Regions from separate parts of the Homo sapiens genome. Here all the other regions are linked to region 3. The links are contacts of gene promoters, found by promoter capture Hi-C in blood cells and fetal thymus (Javierre and others, 2016). All regions are on one chromosome and are shown on one strand. The core of a region is centred on a gene start or on the middle of the fragment in contact, and the rest is flanking DNA. Distances in the headings are between cores, read along the strand shown. Region 1 overlaps PDE4D (phosphodiesterase 4D). Region 2 has its middle 4.1 kb from the start of DIMT1. Region 3 holds the start of ERCC8 (ERCC excision repair 8, CSA ubiquitin ligase complex subunit). Region 4 overlaps KIF2A (kinesin family member 2A). Region 5 holds the start of PDE4D-AS1 (PDE4D antisense RNA 1).

The links. The method cuts DNA at HindIII sites, captures the fragments that hold promoters and counts their contacts. A CHiCAGO score of 5 or more calls a contact.
Region 1: a fragment that was not itself captured here is called in contact with the fragment with the promoter of ERCC8 in region 3 in 1 of 17 cell types (monocytes); the score reaches 6.5 in monocytes.
Region 2: a contact is called between a fragment that was not itself captured here and the fragment with the promoter of ERCC8 in region 3, in 5 of 17 cell types (fetal thymus, monocytes, naive CD4 T cells and 2 more). The highest score is 6.5, in fetal thymus.
Region 4: a contact is called between a fragment that was not itself captured here and the fragment with the promoter of ERCC8 in region 3, in 1 of 17 cell types (non-activated CD4 T cells). The highest score is 5.4, in non-activated CD4 T cells.
Region 5: the fragment with the promoter of PDE4D-AS1 here is called in contact with the fragment with the promoter of ERCC8 in region 3 in 3 of 17 cell types (total CD8 T cells, naive CD8 T cells and fetal thymus); the score reaches 5.8 in total CD8 T cells.

The regions. Positions count from the first base shown.
Region 1 is chr5:59,810,976-59,817,289 of GRCh38, reverse strand. The region is part of intron 1 of PDE4D (phosphodiesterase 4D); the gene reads left to right. Among named protein-coding and RNA genes, the nearest start is that of PDE4D, 80 kb to the left of the region's middle. The HindIII fragment of the contact is 2,529 bases long and covers 551-3,079 here.
Region 2 is chr5:62,405,056-62,410,917 of GRCh38, reverse strand. No RefSeq gene overlaps it. Among named protein-coding and RNA genes, the nearest start is that of DIMT1, 4.1 kb to the right of the region's middle. The HindIII fragment of the contact is 3,071 bases long and covers 3,038-5,862 here.
Region 3 is chr5:60,941,058-60,947,154 of GRCh38, reverse strand. It overlaps ERCC8 (ERCC excision repair 8, CSA ubiquitin ligase complex subunit), which reads left to right and starts at 2,085. Exons shown (of 12, transcript NM_000082.4): 1 at 2,085-2,223. The coding sequence starts at 2,147. NDUFAF2 (NADH:ubiquinone oxidoreductase complex assembly factor 2) reads right to left here and starts at 1,950. Exons shown (of 4, transcript NM_174889.5): 1 at 1,773-1,950. The coding sequence starts at 1,899. RefSeq lists an enhancer at 1,185-1,314. The HindIII fragment of the contact is 6,619 bases long and covers 1-2,286 here.
Region 4 is chr5:62,355,427-62,361,489 of GRCh38, reverse strand. KIF2A (kinesin family member 2A) reads right to left here. Exons shown (of 21, transcript NM_001098511.3): 8 at 3,745-3,799; 9 at 3,191-3,353; 10 at 158-248; 11 at 1-24. Among named protein-coding and RNA genes, the nearest start is that of DIMT1, 45 kb to the left of the region's middle. The HindIII fragment of the contact is 1,516 bases long and covers 2,409-3,924 here.
Region 5 is chr5:59,037,678-59,043,508 of GRCh38, reverse strand. It overlaps PDE4D-AS1 (PDE4D antisense RNA 1), which reads right to left and starts at 3,743. Exons shown (of 2, transcript NR_198970.1): 1 at 3,439-3,743. PDE4D (phosphodiesterase 4D) reads left to right here. Exons shown (of 15, transcript NM_001104631.2): 6 at 4,538-4,650. RefSeq lists a silencer at 4,305-4,374. The HindIII fragment of the contact is 4,461 bases long and covers 2,368-5,831 here.

The sequences.
Region 1 (6,314 bases), core at 566-3,065, 1.1 Mb after region 3:
TACAGAGCTCCCTCTTCTCCCCTACATGTTGGAAAATGTGTGTGATCTAAATGAGGGAGAGGGAGAACCATCTCATCTAATCTTCCAAACTTCCTGAGCCACCTTTAGCTACTGAGCACATTCACGTTTCCGTCAGCTGGGAATTTAGGTGCCCTGCCTATCATCCTCTGGAGCCCATCCCAGGAGGGGGCAGAAGGAGGTGGAGCAGCACACTAGTGTTCCCAGAGTGGGGAGAGCAGATGGAGAGGAGTTCATGGGAACGATGATTTACCCCTGCTCACTTACCCCTGTGAGAGGACACTGCCCTCCACGAATCAATGCTGGCTCCTCCTCCAGGAACCAGGCTTCTGCATCTCACTTGCCATGCTGTGGATCTAGGAACAAATTTGCATTTGGAAATTCATTTTAAAGTGTGCATGCTGAGGTTCTGGTGACATGCAGGGTAACTTCTCCCACCCACGATATCTCTTGACTCAGGCCTTCATGTAGGAGGGGAGGAGTGTTTGGCAGCAAAACTGGGTATTTCTTAGGAAGGAAATCCTTCTAAGCTTTATGGAAATCCTAGGGTGTTGTCCCTACCTTTCTGAGTGTGGAGCAGACTATCTGTGTACATAGCGGTAGTGAGGGGTGTAATATTGGAGAATGGCTTAGGTAACAGCCAAAATATACATTGTATATCCCCAAAAAGACGACCAAAGACTCACAGGCCATGCTGCTATCATTAGATATAATAGGCATAGCCTTTCATTGATATGTAAATGTTAGTATTTTTGGTAAGTGCCTTATTTTATCTTCTGGATAATATAAGATACAAGTACCATGAGGGCAGGATCCTTCTCTCATTCATTTTTTTTCCCAAGAGCATAGCACAAAGTAGGAAGTACTTGTTGAGCGAATGAATGATCCTAAATATGAAAGGATGGCATTTTATCGCCATTTTCCAGATGAGAAAAAAACGAGGGAGCTTATCAGGTTTATATATAGTGAGTGACAAACTTCAGAATTAAACCAAAATCTAGTAATTCCTATAACTTACAGGTTATTAAGGAGTCCACCTGAATGTAAGTCCAACAAGACAGGTGTTTATTTTGTTTACATACATTCCAAGTACCTAAGACAATGCCTAACATATATAAAATACTTCATAAACATCTTCATGTGTGAATAGAATTTTCAAAGTTCATCTCAATATATGCCTCATGTGACACTTCCAACCCTTCACTGCCAGGTCTTTCAGTCTTTATTTGAATAGGTTCAGTAAGAAAGAATTCACTCGTGCTTTAGATATGTATGGCTTTTCCACATTGTTGTCAGTTCTAAATCCCGAAAGTTATTTTTGTATGCTTGGAATACTTCACAATATTCACAATTTTTACAATAAAATAATTTCAGGTCTTCTTGATGAAAAATGTCGATCAGGACAGGGCTGAGGATAATCACAAGGCTTGAAATTAAAGAAGTCTCCTTAGGCTGAAATGAATTTCTAGTTGTAAAACCAAATATGAATCTATGTATTTGTGTTCCTCAGACCACTTTTCCAGCAGGTCCTTGGCTGTATTTTGTATGCATTTGTGAAATGCTTTGTTGAAATTCAGTTTCAGCCAGGTCTGTAGCATTCTCCTGGCCCCTGGTCTGATAGTTGTACCAGGAACACTAGCTAACAATTGCATGGCACTAGTCTCAGCTGGATTTGTTCTAACTCTTTTATATGTATTAACTCAATCCCTACAACCACCCCATTTCATTACTATGCCCACTTGAGAACTAAAAACACTGAGGAAGAGCGAAGTTAAGTAACTTGCAGAGGTCTCAGAGCTAGGAAGTAAGACAGCCAACTCGGAACCCAGCAGACTAGCTCTGGAGCCTACCCACCTACCCTCCACACCGTACCTGTGGTCCATCCTCACCAACCAGGCCTGCTGCCCTGAGCATAACTTCACCCTCTTGCGTTCTAAAACTATCTGCTGATTAAGTGAGTTCTGAAATGTTTTCAGGGACCAATACTAAAATCAACTATGAAATAGTTTCAGAGATTGACCTTTCCTCCTTTTGGAATGGATAAGATTTTCCCAACCGAGGTCTCCCATCAGCTCTCCTGTTCCCCTGGACTGTGGCACATAGGAGGGCCAGGGACTTGCGCCTATTATTTCATTTCTTTTGTTATCCTTCATTTCTAGATCTCTTCTCTACCACAATTATCTCTCATGTTGACAGTTTCCCCACAGATGGGATGTCTATTTCCTTGATAATACAGCATTATTATGCTAAAATCTCTCATTTGTGTTATTAGCCAGACTCTGTGCAAAAACGTGTGTATATCTGAGACTCTGTGCTGTTCTTAGCCACCTTCTTGGTCCCTTCTCATGTAAATTACTAGGGCACTTCTTCAATATTATTATTATCATGCCCCCTTACCACCACCACAAAATCTTCCATCATAACCCATTTTTTTTTCCTCCTCCTTACCACATTTTCAGCTTTGAACTCTTATAATCAGATCAGGAATTACATTTCTGAACAAATGCAGGCTTTGCAGCATTGTGAAGTGCAGCTGGTCCCCAGCAGAGAGCCCTAAGCCCCTGCCTGAAGCCAAACCCCCTTTTGTGGCGAGAGGTCTGGATTTTATTTGTTGTTTTTATCTTTGGTGAACTGTCAACTGGAAGCAGAGATGCGAACACCAGTTATGTCCTCCCCTGCAAGGTTCATGACCAATACTTTATAGTTTCTGGATATGCTTCCTAGGTTTCTTCTGTTGGTGTCATTTGCCTGCATGTGACTCACTGGCAGGTGGTGATTTCATCATATTCTAGACATGTGTCTTAGGAAGCTGGCCCCTATCCTGGCTGGCTGGACACATATCGAAGTTCCTTAGATCTACCATTGTCACTTTCATATCCATTGTTAAATACTATAGATAGCATGCAGGGGTCAGCCAAATTGTTCTGTAAAAGGCTCAAGCATAAATATTTTAAGTTTTGTGGGACAGACAGTCTCTGTCGCAACTACTTGACTGATGCAGCATGCAAGCAGCCACAGACAATAAGTAAACAAATGGGAATGGTTGTGTCCCAATAAAGCTTTATTTATAAAAACTGTCTTTTTTTATAAATAAAGGAGCCCATCGTTTGCCGCCCCCTAGTGCCAGGAAGGAACAAGGGGAAAATAAGGAAGAGACCCAGAGGAAAAAAAGTGTCACCAACCATATCTCTAACTCATATTTATTTACTTATTTTTCTAAGCGCAATCGCTAAATTATCTCGTCTTCCTAAGGCGTATGAATCTCTTACATTAACTTAGGGACAGAATATAGAGTTTTATGTTATCTTCTGTGAGTTCTTTTTCCATTCTGTCATGTTTCAGACTTTCAGAGGTAATTTTTAAGTATTTCAGCTGTGCCTTAGATACATTAAGGGACCTATAGTGCCTCCCTGAGGCCAAGATGATGGTTGCAATCATAAATAGGTTATTTCTGAGTTGAGACTGGTAAGAACAGATTATCCTGCCCAGACAGTGATGTGCCAAGCATTGGCAACTTTGAAAAATTTGCAATTTGATTTTATAGGAGAGTTTCCTTAACAGGCCTGAGTTTTTTTCCCATTGCTTTTGTGAATACAGTATTTTCCCCTGCTAGACTCTTAGTCAAATGTTCTTGCCATTATAAGAAAAAAGGAAAACTGAAAAACTTGAAAATAATTTTATTGGCTTAGGAATTATTTTCATGTTTGTCTGCTAATGGCAAATAAATCTACCTTATTGAATCATACGGATTTTAATTCCCCGGGGGAAAGGTAACCAATGACAGGCATATGTGTGTGTGTGTGTGTGTGTGTGTGTGTGTGTGTGTACAAGTGTATGCTTGTGAAAATTGAACAGCAAAAAGAAATTAGGTGGAGAGGAAAACATTAAAGCTGGTACTGGTGGGTAATCATTATATATAGTATATATACACATATGCCTTCTCCAGTTTTATGGAGGCAGTCAGTGCCTCAAAGACGTGTAATAAAGAGACAGCAACAATTATTGGTGGCATTCATGTAGGAGAGGCTTGAGCCAATGTAAACTTGACTTGGTTAGTAATCTTTGCCAAAACTCCCTGATTGTTGTAAGGGAGTTGTGAACCATTAGGTTTGCTTAACCAGAACAGCAAGTAAGCATCCAAACAGATTGTCCTTGGACCATAAGCAAATGCCCAGAAAATAGCCCCCTGCATAGGATATTAAGTACTTAGAAACAAATGAGAAAAAATATTACAGCAAGTCTTCCAGGTATAGAAGGGATAAACAACCCTATTGGTATCAGAATTTAGGAATATTATTATGTCTCCCACTTTAAATGAAATACAGCAGCCTGACTTGGCAAAATTTGGGGAACGGTTCCCCTTCTTTGCAGCCAGGTTCGGTGCTTGCCCTCTGGCATCCCTTCAATTGTGTATATTACTGGCAGAGACAGCTGTTTGAGCTGCTAATAAGATTGCAAAATAATATCAGCTTGTGCTTCAGGTTGAAGATAAGAGATAACATTGCATTGGCTGTAGGAATGGCTTTCTTATAAACTGGATTTAGTTTTATCTCACTTGTCTCACTTGTTACTTTTTTATTTATTTACTTTTTTTTTTTTGAGATGGAGTCTCACTTTGTCACCTGGGCTGGAGTACAGTGACACGATCTTGGCTCACTGCAACGTCCGCCTCCCAGGTTCAAGCCATTCTCCTGCCTCAGCCTCCCAAGTAGCTGGGATTACAGGCATGCGCCACCACGCCTGGCTAATTTCTGTATTTTTAGTAGAGACAGGGTTTCACCATGTTGGCCAGGCTGGTCTCAAACTCCTGACCTCAGGTGATCCGTCTGCCTCGGCCTCCCAAAGTGCTGGGATTTCAGATTACAGGTGCCATGACGCCTGGCCCCACTTGATACATTTGAGGGTCTCATAAGGTCTTGAAATTGAGCCTGTGAATTTATAAACAGGGCTACAACCATCCTGCAGATGCAACTTTTTGGCATGCCAGAATCAGTGGCACCTGAAGAGCATCTCCTTGAAAGCGGTAGTAGATAAAAGGAGATGCCTTTCAGGTTTCAGACGTGGACCTCAGATTCACCTCCAAGACTAGAGTTATCACAGTGCACAGGATCATCCAAGAACAGACATGCAGAGGGAGGAAAGGCCATTGTAAGGCTCAGGAGAACATAGTAGAGCCTAAAAATGAGAACAAAATGGTACTATCAGAAAAGATGGCAGTGGTTGGGACATAAGAGAGGGTAGGTTCACAGGTTTGTGGGACCAGGACTCAGTCACTTTCCTCGCGCTAGGCTCAACCCTCACGATGGGGAAAGTAATGTACTTCTGGGCTTAAAATTCTTCACAGTCAACTGGTAGAGATATGAGGGAATTTATTGCTAAGTAGTAGGGAAAGTGTTTTCACAAATAACATACAGGAAATTCCCATATCATACAAAGGAGGTTGTATTATCACCACGTTTTTACATATGAGAAAATAGAGTCTTAGAAAAGTTATGTACCTTGCCTAGGAGCATGTGCCTAGATAGTGGCAGCTCCAAGATTCAAACCTAAAACTCCAGAGTCTGAAACTCACACAGTTTCTTCTCTGTTCTGAGGCTTCATGCAGCTGGACAGGAGGTTAGCCTGAGACAAGAGGAGGATCATTCTCGAAGGCAGAGAGGCTGGGGACATGACTGCTTTCTGGAAACCTGAGCTCATGGAGAGAGGCTGAGAGTCAGGAAAGTAGGACATGAAATCATTTAATGAGAGTGAAGACCAGCCAGGTCAGGGAGTTTGAAAAGAGAGTTTTGAAATATCCATTGTAGCTAATATGGGAGAGCATTCTTTGAGAGTGATTAAAATGGCGACTGAGGACACAGCTAAAGTGAGAAAGAATAAATCTGTGGCAGACTTGCATATTTTTGGTATGTGCATCTCTTTCCGAAATCAATTGAACAGAGGTGGGAAAAGTAGCTTGGTGGATAATGAGGTAGAGTGGAAAGTTGAAAAGACAGAGCTTAGGAGTCTTTCTGATTGGTCTAAAATTCCCCAGGGAAAATCATGTTTCTTTTTATGAATATAGTCCAGGTCTTAGGTCTGTCCCACGGCACAAAGTTTTCAGGACATTCTGGACAAATTCACACATTTCCCTGGATGTCAGTCAATTCCCTTTGCCTCTGTGCTATCACTTTCCTTCTCTCTGCTTTCTCCTTGAGTTACCTGTCCCAGCTCTTCACTCCACATTCTGCAGCCTCCGTTTAGCTCCTTTATACCTTTGTCCAGATTCTTCCTAACTTATTATACTGCCTCCTCATGTC
Region 2 (5,862 bases), core at 3,324-5,823, 1.5 Mb before region 3:
CCAAGACGGACAGGTCACCTGAGGTCAGGAGTTCAAGACCAGCTTGGCCAACATGGTGAAACCCTGTCTCTACTGAAACTACAAAAATTAGCCTGGCGTGGTGGCATGCGCTTGTAATCCCAGCTACTCAGGAGACTGAGACAGAAGAATCGCTTGAGGCCGGGAGGCGGAGGTTGCAGTGAGCCGAGTTCGCACCACTGCACTCCAGCCTAAGCGACAGAGCGAGACTCCATCTCAAGAAAAAATAAATAGGCCGGGCGCAGTGTCTCATGCCTGTAATTCCAGCACTTTGGGAGGCCGGGGCATGTGGATTGCTGGAGGTCAGGAGAGCGAGACCAGCCTGGCCAACATGGTGAAACCCTATCTCTACTAAAAATACAGAAATTTAGCTGGGCTTTGTGGCAGGCACCTGTAATCCCAGCTACTCGGGAGGCTGAGGCAGGAGAATTGCTGGAACCCAGGAGGCAGAGGTTGCAGTGAGCCGAGATCGTGCCACTGCACTCCAGCCTGGGCGGCAGAGGGAGACTCTGTCTCAAAAAAATATATATTAATTAATTAATTAAACAAAATAAAATTATCTTGAAGTGTATTTGTTGACATGTTTACACATGCACAATGCATTGTGAAAAAAGAGGGTTGCAAAACATTATGTTCAGAATGTCCCACTTTTGGAAATAAATAAATGCCAAAATGCTAGGAGGGTTTATCACTAGTTGGATGGGTATTGTGACCATGCTTTATTTTCTTTTTGCTTAACTGTATCTTCTGATTTTATTGAAAGATAGTACTTCTCAGGCTTGGAGAGGTGGCTCACACCTGTAATCCCAGCACTTTGGGAGGCTGAGGCAGGCGGATCACCTGAGGTCGGGAGTTCGAGGCCAGCCTGATCAACATGGAGAAACTCCGTCTCTACCCAAAATACAAAAATTAGCTGGGCGTGGTGGCACATGCCTGTAATCCTAGCTGCTCGGAAGGCTGAGGCAGGAGAATGGTTTGAACCCGGGAGGCAGAGGTTGCAGTGAGCCGAGACTGCACCATTGCACTCCAGCCTGGGGGCAACAGAGCAAAACTCTGTCTCAAAAAAAAATAAAAAACAAAGATAGTACTTCTCAAATTTTAAGTGTTCATAGAATCACATAGGGATCTTGTTAAAATACAGTTCATGATTCATTTAGTCTGAGGTGAGGCTCGAGGTTCTCCATTTCTAAACAAATTTAGATCTATGTTTCCTGGTAGGTAGAATAAAAGATGTCCATGTCCTAATCCCCAAAACCTGTGAATATGTTACTTTACAGAGCAAAAGGGATTTTGCCAATGTGATTAAATTATCCAGGATAATCTTACTATGGGAAGATTATGCTGGATTATCCTCTAGGTCCAATGTAATCAGAGGGGTCTTTATAAGAGGGACGCTGGAGTGTCCAAGACAAAGAAAATATGCCAGTATAATAGATGTCAGAGGGATGCCAGGGCCATGAGCCAAGGAATGCAGAAAGCCTATAGAAGCTGGAAAAGTCATGGAAACTGATTCTCTTCTACAGCCTCCAGAAGAAACTCAGACATGAAAACAATTTTAGACTTCTAACCTCCAGAACTCTAAATTAATAAATGTATCTTGTTTTAAGCCACTAATTAGGTTTGTGGTACTTTGCTGAAGCAGCAATAGAATATATGCTCAAAAGTTATAGGCTCTCTAATTTGCTACCCTTCATTTATTATTTTAACTTGCATAAAATTGAGTCTTGGATAACTCTACATTATAATACAGCTCATTAGATGCTTATAAATTAACATAATTCCTAGATTCATTTTTGTTTATAATAAACTTGAAACAAGTTTATTATTTCCATAAGGACTGATTATGTAAATCAGTCCTGGGAGGCAGAGGTTGCAGTGAGCAGAGATTGTGCCACTGCACTCCAGCCTGGGCAACAGAGCAAGACTCCGTCTCAAAAAATAAAAAAAGAAAATAATTTGTCAATTTATATTCAAAGACTAAAATGTTCACGCAGTTTGAGTAAATAATTCCATGCCTGGAAATCTATACTAGAGAACCAATTCAAAGTACTGAAAATATTTTCCAGGTATAAACTAAAATGTCTATGGCTCTATTTTTATAAGAACAATGGAATAGGCAGGATTTAGTAAACCCTTACGCATTCACAAGGTGAAAGTTTCTGTAGCAGTTTTCTTTCTTTCTTTTTTTTTTTTTTGAGACGGAGTCTCGCTCTGTCGCCCAGGCTGGAGTGCAGTGGCCCGATCTCAGCTCACTGCAAGCTCCGCCTTCCGGGTTCACGCCGTTCTGCTGATCTCGTGATCCGCCCCGCCTCGGCCTCCCAAAGTGCTGGGATTACAGGCGTGAGCCACCGCGCCCGGCCAACAGTTTTCAATATTAATTATTCAGAGTGTGTAATAACTTGGAAAAGGGCTTTTTTTTTCTTTTTTGCTTTTAGAGACAGGGTCTCTGGCTATGTTGCTCTGGCTGGTCTCAAACTCCTGGGCTCAAGTGTTCCTCCCATCTCAGTCTCCTTAATGAAGCTGGGATTAGGAGCATGCACCACTTTATAAAATAAAATATTTTTATTTATTTATACTATAAAATATTGTTTAAAATAAAAAATACATAAGTATAAATATACAATATAAAAATAGATTCTAGCCAGGTGTGGTAGCTCACACCTCTGATCTCAGCACTTCTGTAGGCTGAGGTGGGAGGATCACTTAAGGTCAAGAGTTCAAGATCAACCTAGGCAAAATGCCATCTCTACAAAAAATACTAAGATAAGCTGGGCATGGTAGCATGAACCTGTGGTCTCAGCTACTCTGGAGGCTGAGGTGGGAGGATCGCTTGAGGCCTGGACAGGGAGGTTGCAGTGAGCCATGATTGTGCCACTGCACTCCAGCCTAGGCAACAGAGCAGGACCCTATCTCAAAAATAAATAAATAGTAAAAATAAAAATAGACTCTAACCCACAAATAGAATTCTATGTACCCTAATAATTTGGTTTTTATTGTATTTGGAAACCTTCTAAAAGCTTTATTTTGCAACATGATATACATTATTTTATGATGTTAAAATAATTAATAGAGAGGCCATTAGACTGAGGCTGCTCCAGCACCCTGGGTTCCTACAGAAGCAAACCAAAACCCAACTCAGTGTATTTTATTTGCCATGCTTCCACATTCACCCTATAAAAGCCTTTCTTTGGTGCGCCTTTAACAGAGTCCCAAACTGATTCATGAATCACTGTCTGCTCAAATAAACATTTTAAGATTTTACTGTGCCTTAGTTTCTCTTTTAACAATGGTAATGATGTGGAAACATTTATCTGACAAATGTTTTTGAGAGGTATCAATTATGTAATATTCACTGACAAGGTTTACACCTATGCTGGTATTAAACAGAGACCATAATCATCTTCTTTAAATAATTGTATTAATCTAACATAGTCTTTATGATTATCTAAAAATATTTAGATCATTCTTTTTTGTTTGTTTGTTTTTGTTTTTGAGACAGGGTCTCACTCTGTTGCCCAGACTGGAGTGCAGTGGCGCAATCTCAGCTCACCGCAACCTCTGCCTCCTGCCTCAGCCTCCAGAGTAGCTGGGATTACAGGTGCACACCACCATACCCAGCTAATGTTTGTATTTTTAGTAGAGACAGGGTTTCACTATGTTGACCAGGCTGGTTTCGAACTCCTGACCTCAAATGATCCACCCGCCTTGGCCTCCCAAAGTGCTGGGATTATAGGCGTGAGTCACCATGCCCAGCCACATATTTAGATCATTCTAAAGAATACATTCATAGAAGAATCTTGTTTATAGTATTCAGGATTCCTTCCTTCCTTCCTTCCTTCCTTCCTTCCTTCCTTCCTTCCTTCCTTCCTTCCTTCCTTCTTCCTTTCCTTCCTTCCTTCTTCCTTTCCTTCCTTCGCTCCCTCCCTCCCTCTTTTCTTTCTTTCTTTGAGACGGAGTCTTATTCTGTCACCTAGGCTGGAGTGCAGTGGAGCAAACTCAACTCACTGCAACGTCTGCCTCACTGCAACCCAGCCTGGGCCACTATTTTAAAAATATAACATTTGAAGCCAGGCACGGTAACTCATGCCTGTAATCCCTGCACTTTGGGAGGGCAAGGCGGGCAGACCACTTGAGGCCAGTTCAAGACCAGCATGGGCAACATGGTGAAAACCCATCTCTACTAAAAATACAAAAAAAAAAAAAAAAATTAGCCAGCGTGGTGGTGGTGCACGCCTGCAATCCCAGCTACTTGAGAGGCTGAGGCATGAGAATAGCTTGAATCTGGGAGGCTGAGGTTGCAGTGAGCCAAGATCATGGCACTGCACTGCAGCCTGGGTGACAGAGCAAGGCTCTATCTTAAAATATATATATATATATATATTTATATTTATATATGTTTATATTTATATTTAAATATATATATTTATATTATATATATGAGTTGTGTCTTTAACAGCAAACAAAAGTTAGCCAGGGGAAGGTCGAGAATGCAAAAGGAAGAGCACTCACAAAGCCGAGGTATAAAGATGTTTAAGGAAGAAAAAGGAACTTGATAACGTTGGGAAGTAAATAAGTAAGGTAAATAGGAACTTAATTTGAAAGGCCTACAATGCTATTCTAGGGAGCAATAGTGGTCATTCATTGATGAATCAAAAGAACAATTTTGCCTTCTCTGCTCTTGTCTCCAGGCTGTGGTTACACAGCAGTACACATTGGAGATACTGGGCTCCACATTTAGCTGGAAGACATGCCATGTCTTCTTGAGTTCCCTCTAATCTTCCTCTCCCATTGCGCATAAAGGATCTTCAAACCTTCTCCGCACTCATGCCCCTTGTCCTACCACCTCCACAGCTCCTTCTCTACAGAAAAACTTGCCTTTTATTTCACAGAAGAAATGCAACCTAGAGGCCAAAGCAGGCAGATCACTTGAGCTGAGAAGTTTGAGATCAGCCTGGGGAACAAAGTGAGACCCCGCCTCTACAAAAATTACAAAAATTAGCTGGACAAGATGATTCATGTCTGTCGTCTCAGCTACTCGGGAGGCTGAGGTGAGAGCATCGCTTGAGCCCGGCAGGCGGAGGTTGCAGTGAGCTGAGATCATGCCGCTGCACTCCAGCCTGGGTGACAGAGTGAGACCGTCTCAAAAAAACAAAACCAAAAAACCCAACAACAACAACAATAACAAATCACACACAGGGTTTTGTGTCATGTTAATTTTTTTTTTTTAAACAGGGTATCATGCTGTCGCCCAGGTTGGTGCAATCTTGGCTCACTACAAATTCTCGGGCTCAAGTGAGGCTCCCACCTCAGCTTCCCGAGTAGCTGAGACTACAGGCCTGCACCACCACGCCTGGCTAATTTTTGTATTTTTTGTAGAGACGGGGTCTCACTTTGTTGCCCAGGTTGATCTCAAACTTCTCAGCTCAAGTGATCCGCTCGCCTTGGCCTCTCAAAGTGCTGGGATTACAGGCATGAGCCACCTCTCCAGGCCATGTCCATCCTATTAACATTTGGAAGTGCCTAGCACAGTGTACTCTTTAGAATTGTGGAATAACAATGATTGATGAAATGAAACATATACTTGAAGATGCTACTAGGGTATACGAGATTTTTTTTCTGACTTAGAACTACATCAAAGAAAGAAGGGCCTAAGACCAAGGTTTGGGAATGTACACAATGAATTGCTCAAAAGAGAGTTAGCTTTAGTAATGACAGGAAGAAGCTATTTCTTCAACCAAACAGAATACACACAGAAAAATTTAAAAGAGCCATTACACTGGCTGGCAAAACAGATGTGGATATTATGGCCCTGGTACACACGGAGTTTATAGTCAGGTACACTGT
Region 3 (6,097 bases), core at 836-3,335:
CTTAGTAATCCCACTACTAGATATTTACCCAAGAGATATGAAAACTTACGTTCACACAAATCCTGTATGGGAATGTTTGTAGAGCTTTTGTCACAATCACAGAAACTGGAAACATCCTAATGTCCTTCAGCTTGTGAACAGATAAACTGGCAAACCCATACAATGGAATACTACTGAGCAATAAAAAGGAACAACTACTGACACATGGATGAATCTCAGCTACATTATGCTATGTGAAGCAAGCCAGACTCAAAAGTCTAAATCCTGTATAATTCCATTTATATGATATTCTAGAAAAGACAAAACTATAGGCCCATAAAACACATCAGTAGTTGCCAAAGGGTGTGGGAATGAACTACTAAGGAGTTGGAGGAAATTCTGATGGTGATGGAATTATTCTATTACTTGAATCCAGTGAGGTTACTCTACTCATTTGTCAAAAACAATAAAACTGTACACCATAAAGGGTGAATGTTACTGTATGTAAATTATATTTCAATTTAAAAAAACTCAGTCTGACAGTTTGCATATTTTTAATTTTACTGACAACTTATGGAAAAGAAACATCTCTCTGCTTGCAACCTGTCAAGAAATACTTAACACCATGCTATGTTCTTTGCAGGCTTTTTTCTTTTTTTGTGAGACATATTCCCTGCCTGACAGAGGAGCTCATTAGGGAAACAAGTCTAAATATTAAAATAAGTTACAGAAAAAGGCCAGGCAAAAATAAATTAATTGAGTGATAAATCACAGAATACATTTTATATGTGTGGGAAATGAATGGCACATAATCTTGGAAAGGTCTTAGTGCTTCTCAACATTGCTGATCTTATATTATCTCTAACTTTCAAGTGAGGATGTTGAGACTTGGAGAGGACAAGTACTTTTTCCGTGATTCCCGAGCTATCAGGTGTCAAAGCTGAGATTCTAACCCACGCCTCTTCGCCCAAAACCTGACATTTTCTGCATGCGGCGATGGAACAACACAGAAGAGGTTACGACGGCGGCTACACAGTGTGATTTCAATGGACAGCAACGCCTCCTTACTCCCCAAACAACCCGCTCAACTACTTGGCACGAATCCTACACAGTAACACCATGATTATTGCCACGTTTCTTAAATTGAGCTCAACGGGGTCTTGGAATGTCAACTCCCGAGAAAGGAATCAGCGAGCCTTGTGGGGATATGGACCTACTTCTGACAAGTCTTGGTAGTAAGGAAGGCGCATGGGGCCAGCGCCGGAGCCAGGGTGCCACCGAAAAGGGTAAACACCAAGAAAGAAGACAGCCGAGGCGCTGAAGATACTCCTCTTCAATTACACCACTCAGCTCTGGGTCACAAGGCGGGGAACAGCGTACGAAAAACCCCTCCCCTGGCCCTTCTAGCCCCTTTGGTGAAAGATTTCCGTGGACTTTTCCCTGCCTCCGTCGCCAGTCCAGGGCTAAAACTGAGGCTCCTCTACAGGCGTGGCTGGGAGGAAAGTGGTGGTGCGCCTTAACAGCGCAAGCAGCCCGGGGCACGCCGGGGGAAGGCGCTGGGTAGTAGGGACCGCGGACGCACGAGGCCGGGCCAAGGCGCCCAGAGCCGGGCCGGGTAGGGCTCCGATGCCAGAGTGAAGGGGTCGACAGGGGAGAACGAACTCGGGAAATTCTCTCCGGTGACACCCTAAGTGTCGCATGATGCGTTAGTTGACTAGGGGCTCTCACTTTTCCCTCCTTTACTGACCTCGCAATCACTGACCACGCAATCGCTGCCCACGCCGCCACCTCACCTCTCCAGTTCTTGTACTGCGGGATGTAGTAGTATTTGTTCCCGAATTGGTCCGTGCCCACGTGCTCCTTCACTTCCCTTGACAGCGATCTCCACAAGGCGCGGAACAAATCCTGAGACCAACCCATGCCGTCCACCCAGTTTCCAGCGCTGCCAGCAGCGGGACCCGCAGTAGGGGTAATGCTCCAGCCGCCGACCCAGCCCACCGAGGCGGAGAAGTCAGGTCGGCCTCCATCCTGGAGCCCTTCTAGTAACGGCGCTCACCATTGGCCGGATATATCACCGACTGACCAATGGGAGACTCTGCTGTTCCAGTCCCGCCCCTGAGCTCTGTCATGGCGACGTCCAGTGCTCCAGCCGGTGTGAGGACACGATATGCTGGGGTTTTTGTCCGCACGCCAAACGGGTTTGGAGGACCCTCTTCGCCTTCGGAGAGCAGAGTCAACACGGAGGTAAAGAAAACCTTACTTTTTGGCTAACAGGCCAGTTAGAATCTGGACCAATGACTGTAAGCTTTGCCCCACACTTTCCCGTCTCATCGCTCTCCTGCCACCAAACTATTATTTGCCCTCTAATGCTGTGTGGCTTGCTAAAATAGGATCCCTTTTATTTACTGGTAACAACTTGCAGGCGGGGGGCGGCGGGGGTGGGGGGGGTTCCCCGGGGGTGGGGGGGGGGTTCCCCCGCGGGCTCAGGTGAAGACACTATAAACCTAAATAAGAATACTTCGTTGTACTGTATTCCTTCTCTCTTAAGTTACTCCAAAGAATAACTGCCCTCCACGGACTCGTTCATTCATTCAGTCTGCATATTTAGTGAATTCCTACAGTGTGCCAGGCAGCCTATTAAAGGCAGAGGACACAGGCCAGGAATTGAACAAAGTTCAGAATGACTAGAGCGGAGAATTGGGGTAGGGACCATTGACAAGAGATGAAGTAGACAGAAACTAGATGAGGAAGAGCCTTGTGTACTTGAGTAGAGGTGTGAAGATGAGAATAAGGTAACAGCTATTGCATTTTGTTTTCTGCTTGGAGAATGGGTTGCAACTGAGAACAAGAGTGGGAGCCAAGTTAGGTAACTGTTGTGATTACACTTGTCCGGGAGAGAGTTGTTGGAAGCCTGGGCCACAGAGTTGCCAAGTAGAATAAAGATAGTGGAGAGATTTGAACAACGTCTGAGAAATAGAATCAACAGGCCATGGAAATTGAGTGGATACGTGAATGACAAAAAGAGAAGAATGAATAATGATTCCCAGATCTATGCCTTGTATAAGAAGTTGAATGTTGGTAATATACTCTGAGAGAGGGTTTTCCAAAGGGAAGAAGCAAGTTGTACTTTTAATTTTGCCCACATTAATTGAGGAACCTGTGAAGATATTTACTTGGAGAACACAGTTGCTTATGAGTTCTGCGTTCTGGAGAAATTTAAATATTAGTTTCCAACATTTTATCCATTACGTTTTCAATGTTGTGAAATATCTCTGAGAGTTCCTTTAATGTGTTTTTTTTGCCAGTGTCACTTCCTCTGACACATCATCAGCCTTTCATCACAATCACTTTTCCTCATTTATGTCTATAAGTTCACCTTCACTGATTTCCTCAGTCTGCATATCTAGAATGTCTCAAATGGCGGCAGTGTCATTGTTGCCACAATCAGCATGTTCCCACAGGCAGCTTTTTTTTCATTTGCTCCATTTATGTTTAATGCAAGTTTCACTTCTAGTATTATCACTCTTCTTTAGTGCACTTTCATTCTTTTGGCCAATTTCCTCTTTTAATCTGTAAAATTCCATGTGGGTTTATCTCAAGGGCACAGAAATATTAATAACAAACCTCCATGCTTTGCAGCCTGTGTGTGAACTGAATAACAGATGCACAGTGACCAATCACCCATAGACTTTGAAAGAAGTAAAATTGCAAATTGGTCAATTTTGATTCATATGTTATTTATGTAATGATTTGTGAACTGAAAAGCTAGTAGCAAACTTTTATGCTATTTCTCACGGTTAATAAACTGTGGTAACTGAAATTCATATCAGACTGTGCCAAGTGAGGATTGCTTATACGTTTAAGACAAATAAAGTATTTAAAAATTAAAAAAATATTTTTTTTTTGAGGCAGGGTCTTGCTCTGTCACCCAGGCTGGAATGCAGTGGTGCAGTTACAGCTCACTGCAGCCTCGACTTTCCAGGCTCAAATGATCCTCCCATCTCATCCTCCTAAGTAGCTGGGACCACAGACATGTGCCCACACACCTAGCTAATTTTTAAATTTTTCGTAGAGATGGGGTCTCCCTATGTTTCCCATTCTGGTCTTGAACTCCTGGGCTGAAGTGATCCTCCTGCCTTTGCCTCCTAAAGTGCCGGGATTATATGTGCGAGCTACCACACAGCCTAAAATTTTTTTAAAAATATTTCCATCATTAAGTGATGTTTTTGCTTAAACAATTATATAGTTCCATTTTATTCATAGGAGATGTCTACTGTTCTTCCTTGTCATCATGTAAGAGCAAAAGGATGAACACTGATATGCAGTGTTCACAGTTTACACCCTCTAAAAAAACATTTTACAACTTTATTGAGGTATAATTGACATGCAATACCCTGCACATTAAATGAGAATATACAATTTGATGAATTTTGACATATATTTACTTTTGAAACCATTACCATAATCAAGAGAACATCCATAACCCTAAAAAATTTTTGACGGTCATTTATAATCCCTGTCTCCCTTCTTTCTCTGCTTTACCCTCTTCCTTCTCTAGAAACTACTAATCTGCTTTAGGTCACTATAGATTAGTTTGCATATCTAGTATTTTATATAAATGGAATCTTTTTTGTCTGGCTTCTTTCACTCAGCATAATTACATTATTTTGAAATTTCTCCATGTTATTGCATGTATCAATTCCTTTTTTTTGCTGTGGAGTATCCCACTGTGCAGATATACCACAGTTTATCTAGTCACTTGTCGATGGACATCTGAGTTGTTTCCAGTTCAGGACTAATACATTTACAGCTGCTCTGAAAATTCATGTATGAGTCATTGTATGAACATATGCTTTTATTTCTCTGAAGTTAATGCATAACAGTGGAGCTACTAGATAAATCCTTTACTTTTTAAGAAACTGACAGTTTTCCAAAAGCATTTTCCAGTCCCACCACTAATAGGTGAGAGTGCTAGCTGCTCCATATTTATGTTTCCCCTTTCCTGCTTTCATTTGACTGTTTGAACATTATTTAGTATTCTATTTTATATACTATGGTTTTGACTATATCTTTTTGTATAATTCTTTAGTGGCTGCTCTAGGAATTATAAAATACTTACTTTTCGTTGTCTACTTCGGATCATTTCATTGTTTTACTGCTTCATTTGGCATATAGAAACCTTATCACCCTTTCCCCTGCACCATATATATATTGTTGTCTTATATTTTATATTTACATACATTATATACTCTATCAGACATTATAATTTTTTCCAACCATCAATCATATTTTAAGGAAAAAAGTAGCCATTATATTTAACCAGATAGTTATTTCTGTTGCTGTCTCTTTATTCCTGATGCCTCAAATTTCCTTCTTATATCTTTTTCTTGTCTCTGAAGAATATAGTTTATCAATTTTTTTAGAGTAGGTCTAATGGTTTCTGAAAAGGAATCTGCAGCCATTCAAATCATTGTTTTCCTATAGGTAATTTATCATTTTTCTCTGGTTGCTTTGAAGACTTCGTCTTTAGTTTTCAGCAGTTTAATTATGATGTGTCTGGTTGCAGATCTCTTTGGATTTATCCTAGTTAGGGTTCATTCTGCTTCTTGAACTTGTAGACTTATATCTTTCCATAAACTTGGGAACTTTCCAGCCATTTTTTCCAATGTTTTTTCAACACTACACTCTTTCTCTTCTCCTTCTAGACCTCCAATGACAAAAATGTTAGTCCTTTTATAATTGTTCCTCTGATCCCTAAGGCTTTGTTCTTTTTCCCTTCGATCTTTTTTCCTCTATATTGTTAGATTGTATAATTTTAATGGATCTATCTTCAAGTTCACAGATTTTTTCCTCTGCCATCTCCAATCTGTTAGTGAATACATTAAGTTAAAATAATTTTATATTGAAAACTAAAATTTCCATTTGGCTTTTATTTATGTCTTCTATTTCTTTGCTGAGACTTTCTGTTTTAACATCTGTTTCAAGTGTGTGCACAATGGCTTACTCAAGCTTTTTTTTTATTTTTAGAGATGAGGCCTCACTGTTTTGCCCAGGCTGGTCCTGAACTCCTAGGCTGAAGCAGTCCCCCTGCCTCAGCTTCACAAGAGTCACTGGGATT
Region 4 (6,063 bases), core at 1,917-4,416, 1.4 Mb before region 3:
TCCTGAAAAGTCACCACCCATAGTCTATATTTTAAAAAGAAAATAAAGAACAGACATTACTCAGGAATAACTCTTAAGAATTTAGTTCACAGAATTAAGCTATAAGGAAAAGAAACTGTAGCTTCGTACCAGAATGTAACTTTAATAAATTACTTACATGAGTTTTTCCACTTCCAGTCTGCCCATAAGCAAAGCATGTAGCCATTCCCCTTTCAAATATAGTTTCCACTAGTGGTCTAGCAGTAAACCTTAAAAATAAAATGCATCAGTCAGAATGTGTCACCAATATTTTGATGAATAATAGTAATGCTGAGTAATACAAAGTATTTTATTAATAAATAAAACTTAATAGCAAGATTCTAAACAAATCTTTGTTAAAAATTTTAAATAACAATATCGAAGAATTGATTTAAGAATTTTAAATATCATATGCTAAAATTACTTAAACTACTTAAAGCATAATTTCAAGCAATATTTCCATAATAAATAATGGTCACAATAAGGCATATACAATAAAAACAAACACAAAGTATTATAATTTCAACAGAAACAGAATAAACAAGAGTGGTAATCTCAATTTTAAAAAGTTAATAGAGGAAAAAAACTGCAAAAATATTATCTATAGACCATCTAAATAAATAGAAAAATGTTGATTACCTTGAATTTAGACAAGTAATTTATACTTAAGCAAAAAGAATATAAATTGTGCTTGTAGGAAAATGAATTCTATTAGTAAGTTGACACTCTCAATTTAGGAAAAGGATACCTAAATATTATGGTTTGAATTACATTTTTTTTTTTTTGAGACGAAGTCTCGTTCTCGTCCCCCAGGCTGGAGTGCAAATGGCGCGATCTCAGCTCACTGCAACCTCCGCCTCCCGGGTTCAAGTGATTCTCCTGCCTCAGCCTCCCGAGTAGCTGGGATTACAGGCACCTGCCACCACACCCAGCTAATTTCTGTATTTTTAGTAGAGACGTGGTTTCACCACGTTGGTCAGGCTGGTCTCAAACTCCTGACCACAGGCGATCTGCCCGCCTTGGCCTCCCAAAGTGCTGGGATTACAGGCATGAGCCACCGCACCCGGCCTTGAATTATATTTCAAATGTATTGGTATAACCCACTGCTAGAGTTAAAATAAAAAGGTGGGAAGGTATAAGAAGTACTTTTCCCCTGAGCAGTACACTAAAAAGTATGATGGAGGCCAGGCGTGGTGGCTCATGCCTGTAATCCCAACACTTTGGGAGGCTGAGGTGGGTGGATCACTTGAGGTCAGGAGTTCGAGACCGGCCTGACCAACATGGTGAAACCCCGTCTCTACTAAAAATACAAAATTAGCTGAACGTGGTGGCACACGCCTGTAATCCCAGCTACTCAGGAGGCTGAGGCAGGAGAATCGCTTGAACTGGGAGGCAGAGGTTGCAGTGAGCCGAGATCATGCCACTGCACTCCAGCCTGGGCGACAAGAGCAAAACTCAGCCTCAAAAAAACAAAAAAAAAAAAAGATGGAAAACAGATCTACAAGTAGAACATTTTATATAACTGCTGTCTTTGTTTTGTTTTGTAAAAGGCAAAACTGAAGAAAGTACAGAACAAAAGGAGCAGGAAAAAGTTCTGGTCAAACAGAACTAGGGATGAGCCTGCTAAGTAGATCAAACCCCTACCTCCCAACCCTACCCACAAAAAAACATGTAACTCCTCAATCCATAATAGTTAAGTATAAGAGATAGAGGAGAAGGATAAATATTGATAAAGTTAAGAAACATAAACATAGGGTAAAAACACAATGTTTACTAAATCATACACACAGAAACATGCCTGTATTTGTAATAATTTCTTAAAAACTATTATAAAAGTCAAACTTATATTTTATGAGGCAGGAGTAGAAAGAGGGAATGAAAAGGAAAAGTGGACTCTTCAGAAAGCTAAAAAAAAATTCTACAATTAACAATTATGATTCCCCTTTAAACATATTCTTCACAAATATCTCTATCTAGTATTCATATGTCCTTTAATTTGATCCTTTTTTTTTTTACAACTGACTACCCAGTACACTTGGTGAAGACAAAAAGAGTTGGTCTCAAAAGTATTTCCTTTGTAACACCTTCAATTCTTAGTCTCATTAACTCTAATTTTTTCCTTTCTAGGCATTTTTATGAAAAAGGGCAATCAGATATAGTATTCAAGCAATTACAAAGACAGTAATATTCCTAGATAAACCAAAATAACAATACTGCTAAAACTGGTGTTATAATTATTAGAAATGAATGTTTGCAAACTTACGTATGAAAATCTAAATCTGGCATAAAAATTTGAGATACCAATGTATAACACAGATAAATTTGAATTATTTTTAAGTTGAATACAGAAAACATACAAGAATCTCATGTACTAAAACTATCTCCAAGCTTAAAGATGACAAATTTAAATACAAGTACGGAACTTTTTCGCCTTAAGTGACAATACATACTAAATACAGATTTAGATAAATTAATAATTAACTGATAACAGGTATTTTGGCCAGGCATAACAGTGGCTCATGCCTGTAATCCCAGCACTTTGGGAAGCCAAGGCGGGCAGATCACTTGAGCTCAGGAGTCTGAGGTTAGCCTGGGCAACATGGCGAAACCTCAACTCTACAAAAAGTACAAAAATTAGCTGGGTGTGGTGGTGCATGCCTGTGGTCCCAGCTACTCAGGAGGCTGAGATGGGAGGATCACCTGAGCCTGGAAGGTCGAGGCTGCAGTGAGCTGTGATCGTGCCACTGCACTCCAGCCTGGGCAACAGAGCAAGACCATGCCTCAAACAAACATTTCAAGTTTCTTTATTAGTACAGAGATTAAAAGGTAAAAATTAAAAGTCTTCTTATCATATCCTATTCCTAGAGGTAATGTTAACATTTTCCCGAAATTTCTTATCCATATACATGGTTTGTGTGATATGTATATATATGTATATATATGTGTAATAAGCTAATTAGCAAATAGTAATGGAAACTATGATTTTGGGGAGCATTACAGAGAACAAGTGTTAATATTCATTACAGCATTTATTACATTCTCTTTGTTTAAACTCAGAATAAAACAGCATATTGCACCTCTTAAGAAATATCCCACAATCAATGTAAATTTCAAGGTGCTGATGACCACATGGCATAAGAACAAAATTCTGATTTAAAATGAATTTACCTACCTGTAAACCATTTCATTAGGAGCTGAGTCATCAAAGGCATAATCAAAACGAAATGTTTGGTTTTCTAGGTACCTTGTTAAATCTACTTTTTGTTTTGGTTCATGTACCATCACAACATCTTTACTAGGAATTGTGATTACATCAAGATCTTTCATTTGAGTTTCTAAAAGAATAAATGAAAATCAATGCCCAATAATTTTCACAGCATTTGAGTTCATGTACAAAATTATTTTAAGTAGTAAGAACTAAGATACAAGTAGTAAGTTCTGTACATATAAAGATAATATCCCATAAAAATGCAACTCACTAAGACAAAATATTTCAACAGCAAAGTAAAAACAAAATCAAGATTTCTGTGAAGCAAGACTCGGAATGGCAATGATTCAGAGCAATAACAAACTGACAAGTTTAGCCATAGAAATCTGCATAATGGTTACATACAAATCAAAGGAAATGATTTACATTTTTTCCAAACCAATTTGATTTGCTATTATAAAAATACATTACAAATAAGATAAAATCAATCTTTTATTAGAGCTCATTAAGTGCCATACCTTTTTTATTGAGTGGTCGTTTTCTTACACACACACATATCCTATGTTCATCAATCTAGAAATAAAAAGTATTTTATTTCAGTGATTATTAGTGTCATGTAAAACACTAAAACGTAAATTATGTAATATTTCCTCCAGGGGTTTTAGAAATTTATACATAGCATAAATGATAGGTAAGCTTAAAAAACAAATTAGCTTTGCACAAATTTTAATGGTTGTCAGATATAATTACTTCTAAAATTCTGAGTGTAATGGAAACTTGCTTATTTTGTTATTTGGAAAACCATCACTTTAGGAAATAATTCTGTAGAGGGTACTACTATTGTTAGTAGCATTAAGTTCACATTAAGAAGCTGTGAGGAGGCCGGGCATGATGGCTCATTCCTATAATCCCAGCACTTTGGGAGGCTAAGGTGGGCAGATCACCTGAGGTCAGGAGTTTGAGACTAGCCTGGCCAACATGGAGAAACCCCATTTCTACTAAAAATATAAAAATTAGCCGGGAGTGGTGGTGCATGCCTGTAGTCCCAGCTACTCGGGAGGCTGATGTGGGAGAATCACTTGAACCTGGGAGGTGGAGGTTGCAGCGGGCCGAGATTATGCCTCTGCCCACCAGCCTGGGTGACAGTGAGACTTTATCTCTGGACCAAAAAAAAAAAGAAGTTGTGATGCCAGGCATGGTGGGTAATCCCAGCACTTTGGGAGGCTAAGGTGGGTGGATCACTTGAGGTCAGGAGTTCAAGACCAGCCTGGCCAACATGGTAAAACTCCATCACTACTAAAAATATAAAAACTAGCTGGGCATGGTGGTGCATGCCTGTAATTCCAGCTACTCAGGTGGCTGAGGCACGAGAATTGCCTGAACCCTGGAGGTGGAGGTTGTAGTGAGCCGAGATCCTGCCACTCCACCTCAGCCTGGGCAACAGAGAAGACTGTGTCTCCAAAAAAAAAAAAAAAAAGCTGTATTATCCACTTCAAGATGTGCTATACACAACAAAAGTCAACATTTCTATTCTACTAAGTGACATATTTTCATAGGTTGATCATAGGGAAAGTTGCTAGCAAAGATAACTATGGCAAGAAACAGGATTCTCAGACGATTACTGAGCCAAATAATTTGAACTATTTTATAAATATGCCAATTCTTATGCATAAGTATTTTTTATAAAAATTTTGTTCCCAATACATGCCTCATTTTAATAATAATTAACATAAAGCAAGGATTAGCACAGTATGGCCTGTGGGTCTAATTTAGCTACTACCTGCTTCTGCAAAATTTTACTGACACACATTGATTGAAACAAATGTCATACCCATCATTTATGTATTGTCTATGGCTGCTTTTACAATACAATGACAGAGTTCAGTAGTTGTGACAAAGACCATATAGCTCCAAAGCCAAAGACCCTTGCAGAAAATGTTTGCCAATTCCTGTCCTAAAGGGTGAGCTCTAATGCAGTAAGTGAAACACATGAAGGAATAGCAAGGCCTAAAATATGTGGGATACAAGTATTATCAACAATTCTATTCAATTCTATATAATACATCTATCTAACACAAATGTCTTTTTTGTAACTAACACATTCTGTATATGCTATGTCAGATGGATTATTTTTATAAGTACAAATTAGTTATAAAAGCATTCCCGGCTGGGCGTGGTGGCTCACGCCTATAATCCCAGGCATGATTACAGGCCTCCCACTTTGGGAGACCGAGGCGGGTGGATCACCTGAGGTCAGGAGTTCGAGACCAGCCTGACCAAAAAGGTGAACCCCGTTTCTACTAAAAATACAAAAATTAGCCGGGCGTGGTGGCAGGCGCCTGTAGTCCCAGCTACTTGGGAAGCTGAGACAGGAGAATCGCTTGAACTGGGAGGCGGAGATCACACCATTGCACTCTAGCCTGGGCGATGGAGCAAGACTCCATCTCAAAAAAAAAAAAAAAAAGGCACTCCCTGTCCAATGAATTCTCATTCATCAACAGCAAAGGAGTTGAGTAATAACAGCAGAGGATTTTTTCCAGTTCTAGATTTCTGGTCCACTGCAGCCCTCAACAACCATCACTTATTGTTAAAAGCCAGAATAACATTTAAAACTAACAAATTACCAATAGTAAATTAGAAATGATGGTGGGATCTACAGCCCAAGACAAAGATAAGCTTGGAACTGAGATCAAAGTATAACTCACAGTCAGAAAGGAAAGTGAGTCTTCTGCTATCACTCCTTTAAGTGTTGCTTTGCCCTCCCAAAGACAGGGAGGTTTTGCTTCGAGAAGGACATCTCTATAGGGAGCATATCTCATATACCAAATTATGGAAAA
Region 5 (5,831 bases), core at 2,494-4,993, 1.9 Mb after region 3:
TGCTGTTGTCCAGGTTGGAGTGCAGTGGCCCAATCTCAGCTTACTGCAACCTCTGCCTGCCGGGTTCACGCCATTCTCCTGCCTCAGCCTCCCGAGTAGCTGGGACTACAGGCGCCCGCCACCATGCACGGCTAGTATTTTGTATTTTTAGTAGAGCCAAGGTTTCACTGTGTTAGCCAGGATGGTCTTGATCTCTTGACTTCATGATCTGCCCGCCTTGGCCTCCCAAAGTGCTGGGATTACAGGCGTGAGCCACTGTGCCCGACCTCAGCTGTTATAATTTGTATTTTTTTTTTAAATTAAGGGCATACAAATAGTGTCCAAAATAAGTGGTATTTTTTGGACTTGTTCTCTTCATGTATACCAATAGGTCTATCTAGGAATTATGACAAGCCGATACAGTCCTTTAGCAGACCTTCAAGTGTTGGCAAAGAAACTAATGTCCACATAGTTACACATCCCGTACAGTGGATCCTTTTACCTCAATGGTCAACATCACTGTGAGTTGTGGGTAAGAGTAATGGACTGAACATTTCACAAAAAATGACCTCAACCTCTAGCTAACTGCTGTGGCTCTGAGGTGATTACTTTTTTCCTTTTTCAAAAGGAAGCTGCTTCTTCAGCATCTTCTCCTGGAGCCCCTGGCACAGTTTCAGGCCATGTGTCAGGGGAACCTCTAAGCATATCACTGTGACAGAAGCCAAGTGCTGGCCCGCAAGAATTGAGGACTGTTTGTTCACAGAAGAGCCTCAGCAGAATGCGGGTGTTACATAGTTCAAAGGTGCCTTGAAGAAAACTGATGCTGTTGTAGCAGGGGCCTTCAAGGCTCAATTTATTTCTCAGTTGCTGTTCCATAGCCCTCTCCCAGCCTTTAGGGAGTTTAGCCAATAGTTTTTGCTTGGGTGTTTTTCTCTGTTTAGTTCCTTGACTTAGCAAGATTTGGTGCAGTTAAAGAGTTTTCATGTATTTTTAAGGAGAGCCACAGTGTATACTACTCTGGCAGGGGTTGAGGGGAAGTATTTTATTAATGAATGCAGTATGTGTTCTTGGTAAAAGCCAAAATTAAACTGGCTCACTGTTTTTGTCCTGCTAGCTGTCGACATTTAGGTGTGTTGCTTGGTGTGGTGACTCAATTTCCTGTGGGATAGTTGGCAACTCCACTTTGAGGTTTGTTCGGCGGGATGAAAAGGTCAGTTACTTGATGTCTTAGAACACTTGGGGTTAAAATTCCTAAAAGTGAAGCTTTACAAATGATCCTGAAAAATCGTGGCTAGCTATATTGCCTACTCACCTAGGAATTTGGAAAAAAGCAATATTCTCAGCTCTATGCTAATATCAAGAATAATTCTTTATTTGAGCAACAGTTTCACAGAGCAAACTTTACTCTGTTAGTAATTATTTTCTCACTAGCATGTAGATGTGTTCCAGTGATTTTTCATTTTTCTTATTTATACAGATGTTAGAACTTAAAATATATGCTTACCCCATTTTATCATCATACTCAAATCCTGTCTGTCAAAAGTGGCTGGTGCATGGCTTGGACATAAAATGGATATTCTGAAGTAAATTGTTCCTCCTGTCACTATACTACCTTCTTAAGAACAAATCCTGTGTATAAAGTGCATGATGTCTTGAAGCATTAGCCAAAACTTTCCTGAATTATTTTCCACATTAAAAAATAACAACTGAAATATAATGTGTGGAGCCACATCCTGTTAGATTTGAAGCCTGAGTCTGAACAGCTTTGGGAACTTGGTGAAGATGGAGGAAGGGGGCAGTTTACTTAGCTACTGGGAAATCACTTGAGGCTCAGGCTTTGAGAAAGTTGGAGTGCAGGGGAGAGGAGCCACAGAAAGCCGAACCTCAGAGGGGACTCCCAGCTTCATTGTAACCAATGATTGAAAAGATGGCACTGAACAAATCCCAGACACAATGGTTATGCATCTTTAATCCACTGGATAGGCTAACTATGGACAGCTCAAATGATCATAAAACAAGTCAATGTCCTCTTAAAATTTCCTACATTCCTATATTATGGGAATGAGAGAGAGAGGAAAATATCAAAACCAAACCATATAGTAGATGCACTACCATGGCAACTAGGTGATGCTATACTTGCATATGGAAGTTATTCAGTAAAATGAAAATGATTGTGTTAGAGCCATAGGCGAAAGTATTGTTTGTGATCTTTAGGGTGTGGGGTTACAATGGACTTCCTATATTTGTGTGTAATGCTTCAATTTTTATAACAAGCATGTAATATTTTTTACATTCTTAGAATTGGGGAAGCTATACAGAGCAGGTATTTTATATTTACCATTTAAAATTATTAATATCTTTAAGCTTGTTAAGGGGGAAAAAAAAGCTTCAATCTGAAACTTTAATTCACCTGGCAAGGTTTAGGCAGTTGTTTGTCCATCTAAAGTATATATTTACATAGACTGCGGGGTGGAGGAAGTAGAACAAAAAAGAGGCAAATTTTAACCTAGAGTACTCAAAGTGAACAGTAAATAGTTCAAGTATTCTTGATAACAATAAGCCACGTGGCACATGTAACAACTACTTTAAAAGTTACTCTAACTTTTACAAAGTTCACATAAAAAGCTATCTCAAAAATCCCAGGAGCCTAAATTCAGTCCATGAACTTTATTTGTTGTGCCATGTTAATTTATGGAGTCTAAATTTCAAGGGCAGAATTTCTTCTCCAATACCTGTAGATTCAAAGACAAAGACAAGGGATCCCACCACTTAGTGTAAGTTTCTCAGTATCTTCTTTCCACTCGACAATGACAAAGTTTTATCAAATGGACCCTTGGGAGTTTGACTTCTCCTCACTATGAATGGTTTGCTTATTGCATGCTAATGTAGAAAAGTTCTCCCACAACTGATCTGCTTAGGGACAGTGTCCCTGGTGCCCTGGGTCAGCCTTTGTAAACAGAACAGGCTTTTCTGTATGCCTTTGAATATGGTCTTTCCGTTTTCTCAAAATTGTAGTGTACTCTGCACATGGTGGGTAGAAACACCCTTCCAGATTTTCTTCCTTGGCCCAAGATCATCTAGGTCTTATGCAATTCACAGGGGAAAGGAGTAGTATGCAGGACATGCGTAAATTCTCCTTACCATGTGGTTCTTTCACATTGCTGTTCCTTTAAGAGAACTCTTAGGCAATTCGGCATATGAAAATGCAGCCTATTGTCAAATTTGTGAATTATAAAGCGTTCCGACCCCACAACATTGTATATTTTGTTTGCTTGTTTCTGTCCGCCCCAACATTTAGAAGTCTGGTACTTAGTAGGGACTGGGCTGGGTAGAAAAAGAATGCGGTCTTAATTCCCACAACCCTGCCTCCTTGAAGTAGGTGAATCCTAAGCCTTTAGAAACGAACCCCCAGAAACCCTAAAACTTAAACCCTCAGAAACCTTGAGGGTCCTAAATAACCTTGTTTGTGAAACTTCGCAGGAAGCAGCCGGTCGTGGAGTCGCAGAGGCTCCAGCGGTCTGGGCAACCTGGAGGGCAGTGGCTCGGCGGGGCGCGCGGGGTTCTAGCGAGACAGGTGCGCGGCCGTGCGCGCCTGCGTGCCGGTCCCTCCTGAGCCCCGCGGCGGGCGCGACCCCGGACGGCGGACTGCAGGCGCTCCACGCCGGGTTTTCCGCCGCTCTCCTAGCACAGACAGTCCCACAGCAGCCCCACAGACACACACGCTCGCGCCCGCGCCTCCTCGTCTGCACTTCAAAGCGAGTGGCGCCCGGCTGCGCCGGGGGGATGGCACTGCGAGGTGGCGGGGCCCCCGGGGCAGAGCTCGAGGGGAAGGACGCGGCGGGTGGCACGGACAGGGACAGGCTTTTGCAATTCGGAATCTTTTCGTAAGGGGGTTGAGGAGGAGCCAGGCAGCGCCGAGGGCCGAGAGGGGCGTGAGGGGGAGTGTTCCCGGAAAGCTGCGGCGTTGGAGCCGCGCTGCGCCTGCCGCCCGAGGAGTTGAGAAAGAAAACAGGAAACGTGGTGGCCGCGCACCCGGCCGCGGCTGATTCATTCACTTCAAGTGCCGTGCAGAAGGCTCGGCAGGCGGGGCGGGCGTGGGGCCGCGGCTCCGGGTTGGGGACCGAGGAGATCCGGCTGTGGACCAGACGCTCCTCTGCGGGGCGGGCACCCAAGCGCGCTCGCCACCCCCTCGCCATCCGCTAGAGCCGGGCTCCTGGACTGGGACTCGGGCCCGCCGCACAGTTGAAAAGTCGCATAGTGGTTTTTCCGCTCGCGTCGCTGTGTGAAAGTTGGCTCGCCGCTCTTTGCACGCCCTCCCTGGAGGCCGACCCGAGACGCCAAGCTGGAGAGACCGTGCCTCCCCGAGGCCGGCCGCCCCGCGAGCACAGCCTCCGCCCCCGTTGCACTGCCGGGCTGGGCAATATGAAGGAGCAGCCCTCATGTGCCGGCACCGGGCATCCGAGCATGGCGGGGTATGGCAGGATGGCCCCCTTTGAACTCGCTAGCGGACCCGTGAAGCGCTTGAGAACTGAGTCCCCCTTTCCCTGTCTCTTCGCAGAGGAGGCCTACCAGAAACTGGCCAGCGAGACCCTGGAGGAGCTGGACTGGTGTCTGGACCAGCTAGAGACCCTACAGACCAGGCACTCCGTCAGTGAGATGGCCTCCAACAAGGTAAGCCCCGGTTCTGCTGTCACTGGTGCCCCCAGGCTGCTGATTCCCATGCCGGCGAGCCACTGGTACCCATAGCCCCGGGAAATAAATTGAGAGGTTTTTTAGGCTTACTGCATGTTGGCTATTCTGCTCCTTAGAGGGAGGTTCCTGTTTCCTTGCTTTGCCTCCCCTAGTCACGCCAGATAAACATTTTCCAAAAGCAATTTGACGTGCTAAATTTAAGTATCTCCCAAGACACAGGGTTCCTAAGTAACACTGAGCCCTTGCAGCAGAAACCCAGTAGGGTCCATGGGCATTGCATGTTTAAAGGTGTTCTTGGGATTCCCGGTTGAAAATAAGAATTGGTGGATGTCTGTGAAATCACTTGAATGTCACCACCTAGGGCACTCAAACTCAGAAGAGTTCATCGAACTTGGAACCTTCACCCTAATTCATCTAGTTGTCAGGGTACCCCGCAAGAACTGAGCCTTTATATATTCAGTTGGCCATACATATCCGCAGGAAACATTAACAGAGTTAGAAGGTTCCTTATGATCATTACTTTTGTTTCCATTAATCTTGGAAAGAAAGCCCAGTTTTTTGAGGTCATTTAGTACAAGGAGGCTTCAACTAGGCATCTGTGCCATATGTGCTAAGGTGCTGGTCTTGGCAGTTAATGGAGTTTTGAGGGCTGAGAAGTAACCTTCAGCCTGGGACAGCCTTAAAATAGCACGGAAGGCAAGGTATAGTGTTTTCAGTTTTGCTGTATTTTTTGGATTTCCTGTTCTTTTTGTCTTTAGTTATGCAAGGAGATAATTGGAATTGTGTATGTTTTTAGTGGCTATTTGCCTGTGCATGTCGTATGCAGATGGCTGAAGGATTCAGCCAGTAAGGACTGGTAATGTTGTGAGACAATTAGTAATAGTTGCCTCGTCAAGATATTTAAGTATTTTTGGCCACCTATTTACAAGGTCAAGAAGGTTATATTATCTTACAGTTCATCTATGTGCACATATCTTTAAATGAGTGATGCTTTTTTTTTTCTACCTTTCTATGGTTTTTATCCCACCTGTTCTCATGCAGTTTTTACAAAAAGGCCACGGCATAACAGCCACTTGATTGTCTTATCTATTAACAGTGCTTTTGTAGGTAGCATTGTCAAGTGAAAAGTTGGCTTCAAATAAATAAAAGGGGCTCTGTAG